Regions from separate parts of the Homo sapiens genome. Here region 2 is linked to region 1. Evidence: promoter capture Hi-C in 16 types of primary human blood cells and fetal thymus (Javierre and others, 2016). All regions are on one chromosome and are shown on one strand. Each heading gives the region's core, a stretch centred on a gene start or on the middle of the fragment in contact. The rest is flanking DNA. Distances are from core to core; before and after follow the strand shown. Region 1 holds the start of SLC26A4 (solute carrier family 26 member 4). Region 2 overlaps DUS4L-BCAP29 (DUS4L-BCAP29 readthrough).

Region 1 (2,826 bases), core at 244-2,743:
CAGATTCTACTTTAAAACAAATACTTTCCTCTGTTGTAGTGGAGTTGAGCTATACATCCAACAATAATGAAAAAATACACGCATATATACATATATGGAGAGAGATACATATTTTAGTACATGTAGCAATTGATTAATAAATGTACAGTTTAAGTCGCATGCAAAACCTTGGAGTGATAGCAAACTTCATTGTAGGATGTTTAGCAGCATCTCTGGTCTCTACTCACTAGATCCCAATAGCATCTCCCTAGGTGTGACAACCAAAAATGTCTCCAGGCATTGACCTCTGGAGGCAAAAAAAGCCCTTTATTAAGAACCAGTGGTATACATAAGTAAAACATACACAAGAGATTCCTCCCCTCTTCTCTGTATGTGAATAAAAATTGCAAAGTTCATGACCTGGATTTTCCTTTTAGGTTTCTTCTTTAGTGGTTCTTAACTTCATTGGGTGAAGTAAGCCTTTGAAGATCTGTTGAAAGCTGTTGACTCATTCACTTCTCAGGAAAACGCACATGCTGACTACCATTTCAGAGAATTTGCATCAGGGTTCTCTGGGGAGGAGTTCTGAGTTCTGTTTCCAGGAGCTCGTAGAATTGTCATGGTCTGCATATGCAAGGCAGGTGGATTACGGAAGGTTGATGTACAGAGGTCTGTATTTTGGAGCCTCTTCTGTATTTACTTCAGAACACTAACAATCAGGCGAGAATGTTCTGGTTTATCAAACCCTTCCTTCTGCCTTTCATCTTAACCATGCATTAGTTTTAACAAAGTTCATCCCAACAGAAGACAAAACACTGATGAGGTAGGATAGCTCCAGCTCCTCCTCCCTCTCTTCTAGTCTTGATTTCCATGTAGTCCAGTTTATTCCTTCCCTGATTGTCCAGGAGAATGAGAAAAAGAAAAAACAGAGTCTAGTGGGTAAGAAAGGGCCACCTGGACGGCTTGATTTGGATTGTGAAATAAAACACACACACATGCACACGTAGAATAAGTGGCTAAAATCTGAGTAAATCGTGAACTCTCTGTATCCTCCACCCATTGAATACTCCTAAAAGACTTTCTAGAAATTCAAGGACTTATTAATATAGAAACCTGGCCATTGTTCCTCTTCTCCTCCCCATGTGGTATGAGAGCACCTGTGGCAGGCTCCCAGAGACCACGGACCTCTTCCTCTAGGCGGGCTCTGCTCTTCTTTAAGGAGTCCCACAGGGCCTGGCCCGCCCCTGACCTCGCAACCCTTGAGATTAGTAACGGGATGAGTGAGGATCCGGGTGGCCCCTGCGTGGCAGCCAGTAAGAGTCTCAGCCTTCCCGGTTCGGGAAAGGGGAAGAATGCAGGAGGGGTAGGATTTCTTTCCTGATAGGATCGGTTGGGAAAGACCGCAGCCTGTGTGTGTCTTTCCCTTCGACCAAGGTGTCTGTTGCTCCGTAAATAAAACGTCCCACTGCCTTCTGAGAGCGCTATAAAGGCAGCGGAAGGGTAGTCCGCGGGGCATTCCGGGCGGGGCGCGAGCAGAGACAGGTGAGTTCGCCCTGAAGATGCCCACACCGCCCGGCCCGGGCTCCACTCCCGGGGAGGCCTCGAGGGTTGCGGATGGGACTCTTAAGTGGTCACGGATCAGGTGGGCAGGGGGCAGTACAGCTTTCTTTCTGAGACGCCGAGAGCGAACAGGCTGCTCGGAAAACAGGACGAGGGGAGAGACTTGCTCAATAAGCTGAAAGTTCTGCCCCCGAGAGGGCTGCGACAGCTGCTGGAATGTGCCTGCAGCGTCCGCCTCTTGGGGACCCGCGGAGCGCGCCCTGACGGTTCCACGCCTGGCCCGGGGGTCTGCACCTCTCCTCCAGTGCGCACCTGGAGCTGCGTCCCGGGTCAGGTGCGGGGAGGGAGGGAATCTCAGTGTCCCCTTCCAGCCTTGCAAGCGCCTTTGGCCCCTGCCCCAGCCCCTCGGTTTGGGGGAGATTTCAGAACGCGGACAGCGCCCTGGCTGCGGGCCATAGGGGACTGGGTGGAACTCGGGAAGCCCCCAGAGCAGGGGCTTACTCGCTTCAAGTTTGGGGAACCCCGGGCAGCGGGTGCAGGCCACGAGACCCGAAGGTTCTCAGGTGCCCCCCTGCAGGCTGGCCGTGCGCGCCGTGGGGCGCTTGTCGCGAGCGCCGAGGGCTGCAGGACGCGGACCAGACTCGCGGTGCAGGGGGGCCTGGCTGCAGCTAACAGGTGATCCCGTTCTTTCTGTTCCTCGCTCTTCCCCTCCGATCGTCCTCGCTTACCGCGTGTCCTCCCTCCTCGCTGTCCTCTGGCTCGCAGGTCATGGCAGCGCCAGGCGGCAGGTCGGAGCCGCCGCAGCTCCCCGAGTACAGCTGCAGCTACATGGTGTCGCGGCCGGTCTACAGCGAGCTCGCTTTCCAGCAACAGCACGAGCGGCGCCTGCAGGAGCGCAAGACGCTGCGGGAGAGCCTGGCCAAGTGCTGCAGGTAGCGGCCGCGCGGGCCTGCGTAGAGAGAAGCGGAGCGGGGCGTCCACGCCTTGGGGAGGGAAGGGCGTCCCCAGCGGGCGAGAGTGGGGTGCGGGCGGCGGAGCCCCTGGGCGCCAGCTGCTTCTCCCAGAGGCCCGACTTTCGGTCTCCGGTCCTCCACGCCGCCCTTCTGGTGGGAGGGTGGCTCCATCAGTCTCGGGCCCGAAATGAACTTACCTGGGAAACTCGCCTTTGGGGAGAGTGGGTTCTAGGAGCCCCGTCTCTCTTTTTCCTCTCTGAAGGAAACTTGGAGTGCCTCTTGGGGTACAGTGGGTCCCTGTTGCCTTCTTGGGAGCTTGTTTAAATGAAATGAA
Region 2 (2,826 bases), core at 107-2,606, 89 kb before region 1:
CCTTGGTATCAATAGAATGTTGGAGCACCTTGTTACAGCCTTTGGAGGGTAGAAGTCTAGGATTCCCACTTGGCCTTTGCTAATGGAGATAAAGCCATAGCTTTTTCTACAGTATTTGGCTGGAGTAGAACTGTCTAAAAGTTTTCTGTCTTACTAGGTCAGACAGAACATTTTCCTGGTCCTTTGGTTAGAGAAGGCTTTTGTTGGGGCTGGTTTTGTCTGCATCCATTGTTGTTTCCAGGTGGCCAGCTTCTTCAAGTCTAGGATATTTGAGACAAAAATAAAACCCAGAGAACTCACCACCCTGTCATTCCTCAGGTCCTGAGGTCACTAGCCTATCTGGACATCTTTTCTTCACCTTTCAAAATTTTCTTGTGTTTGTTTTATATATAATATCCAAGGTTTTTAGTAATACTTAACAGGAATAATAGGGAAAAGTAAATCTCCTCCATCTCCCCATAGGTAGAACTTTCTCTGATAAATATTTAACAATGCACTAAAATATGTTTGTGGTGTTTCTAAATGCATAATTAAGGTTTTATATGCTCACAGGTTGGCTTTTAGGACACTAGTAAGAAAATATAGTTGTGATCTGTGTTACACACCAATGATTGTTGCCGCTGATTTTGTCAAATCTATAAAAGCCAGAGACAGCGAATTTACCACAAATCAAGGTATGTGAAACCGAGTGTACTGACTTTGTAAAACTTTTTAAATTTGTTTACAAACTCAACTATCTTATCAGAAACAACACAATTTAGAGATTTTATGTGAAGAAGCTTTAGTTCTTTAGTGTTTTTAATAAGTATTTTTTACATGTTATTACTGAATGCCTTGCAAACTATCAGTGTATATACCAAAGTGTAAGGTCACTTTGAAACCCTCTCCTCTCACTAGGGCTACTAGAGTAGATTCCTGTCACACTGCCTCTAGTCTTGTACCATTCCAAACTATCCTCCAAGGAGACCAAAGTGACCTATTGAACATGTAAATTTTTCTCTCATTGTTCTCAAAGTGTGATCCCCAGACCAGCAGCATCAGTATTATCTGGAAACTTGTTAGAAATGGAGATTTACAGGTGTACTAAATCAGAAATTCCACATATGTGGTCCAGCAATCTGTGTTTTAAAAGCTCTCCAGGTAATTCTGAGCTTGTTAAAGGTTGAGAACTACTGGCTTAAAGACTAAAATTTCAGCACCTAAAGATAATACACAGTTTTTCATAATCTGACCTCTGAATACATCTTCTGCAGCCTTATCTTCCTTCAGTTTCTCCCCACACCCCACTGACTTTATCCTTCAAAATTCCTAAGTTATTTTAAGTCCTTGAACATACACTGTCTTCTCACACCAGACCCCCTCTCTCTCTTGCAAACTGTAGTTTATGTTTCGTCATTCAGCTCTCAATATTTGTAGCCATGAATCTTTTTTTTTTTTTTTGATCATCCTCTACTCATGTCCTCCCTGCTAAGCACAGGCTCTTATGTTGCACTTAATCACTTAATTCTACTGCATTATGATTTCCTCTTTATATGCCTGTTTCTCCCATTAGGTTCGGCCTCCTTGAGGGCTGTAGCTTTAGAAATAGCTTGATTTGTATCCTCAGCATCTAGTACAGTGTTGGAAATATATTAGACCAATAAATGGTTGTTAAATTGAAATTCTGTAACTCTCTTGAGTTACAAAAGGGAAAGCACCTTACATCTCCATAAAGAATAAAGCAAATTCTCCTAAACCATCATAATCCTGTAAATCAGTAGATTGCCATAGGAATCTTGAATCAGTGCAACTAGGATGATGCCCACAAATCTGCATTTTCATAAACACCCAGTGAATCTCATACAAGTATTCCTCAAAAGAAATGTTGAAATACATCTAAACAGAGTTTATAACACTGACCCAAGGATACGAAAAATATGTTCTTTAAAACCTAGGAAGCTTTAATACATTCGGCTGTATTAAAATTAAAACTTTGGGCCAGAGGCGGTGGCTCATGCCTGTAATCTTAGCGCTTTGGGAGGCCAAGGTGGGTGGATCACCTGAGGTCAGGAGTTTGAGACCAGCCTGACCAACATGGTGAAACCCTATCTCTACTAAAAATGCAAAAATTGGCTGGCCATGGTGGCAGGTGCCTGTAATCCTAGCTACTTGGGAGACTGAGCCGGAGAATCACTTGAACCTGGGACGCAGAGGTTGCAGTGAGCTGAGATTGTGCCACTGCACTCCAGCCTGGGTGACAGACTCTGTCTCAAAAAAAAAAAAAAATTAAACATTTATATGTAAGAGCACAAATATACTCAAAGACAAAAAACTGAGGAGAATATTTATAACACATGATAGATAGCAATACTAATTTCTTTGTTTTATTAAAAAAATTACAAATAAAAAGAACAACTAATGGAAAAATTATATACAGAAAAATGCAAAGAATATGAAGAGAGCTCACAAATTAGAATATTCAAATGTTGGATATACACTGTATGATAAGTTGTGAGGAAACAAGAACTTTTATCCATATTGGTATATGTCTATATTGGTAAACTCTTGAAAGATAATTCTGTAATATCTATCACAGTGTTGTATGTTAAATGCCTATTAACAATTCTCCTAAGAATTTACCCTATGAATATACTCAGAGCATGTGAAACAGTCTAAAAATACACTATATGGTCCATCCGTACAGCGGAATATCCCACTATAAAGAAGAAAATAGGTCTGAGTACATCTCCCAGATACATGAGGAAAGAAAGGAACACTAGGCACAGTGGTATATATAGATTGTTCACACTTGTTTAAATTTTACAGGTATACAAAAAAATTGTTCTG

What was found. The method cuts DNA at HindIII sites, captures the fragments that hold promoters and counts their contacts. A CHiCAGO score of 5 or more calls a contact.
Region 2: a fragment that was not itself captured here is called in contact with the fragment with the promoter of SLC26A4 in region 1 in 1 of 17 cell types (naive B cells); the score reaches 5.3 in naive B cells.

The regions. Positions count from the first base shown.
Region 1 is chr7:107,659,335-107,662,160 of GRCh38, forward strand. SLC26A4 (solute carrier family 26 member 4) reads left to right here and starts at 1,494. Exons shown (of 21, transcript NM_000441.2): 1 at 1,494-1,521; 2 at 2,305-2,471. The coding sequence starts at 2,308. It overlaps SLC26A4-AS1 (SLC26A4 antisense RNA 1), which reads right to left and starts at 2,464. Exons shown (of 2, transcript NR_028137.1): 1 at 2,268-2,464; 2 at 1-872. The HindIII fragment of the contact is 14,838 bases long and covers 1-2,826 here.
Region 2 is chr7:107,570,593-107,573,418 of GRCh38, forward strand. It overlaps DUS4L-BCAP29 (DUS4L-BCAP29 readthrough), which reads left to right. Exons shown (of 13, transcript NR_163941.2): 4 at 553-674. It overlaps DUS4L (dihydrouridine synthase 4 like), which reads left to right. Exons shown (of 8, transcript NM_181581.3): 4 at 553-674. Among named protein-coding and RNA genes, the nearest start is that of DUS4L-BCAP29, 8.0 kb to the left of the region's middle. The HindIII fragment of the contact is 1,159 bases long and covers 778-1,936 here.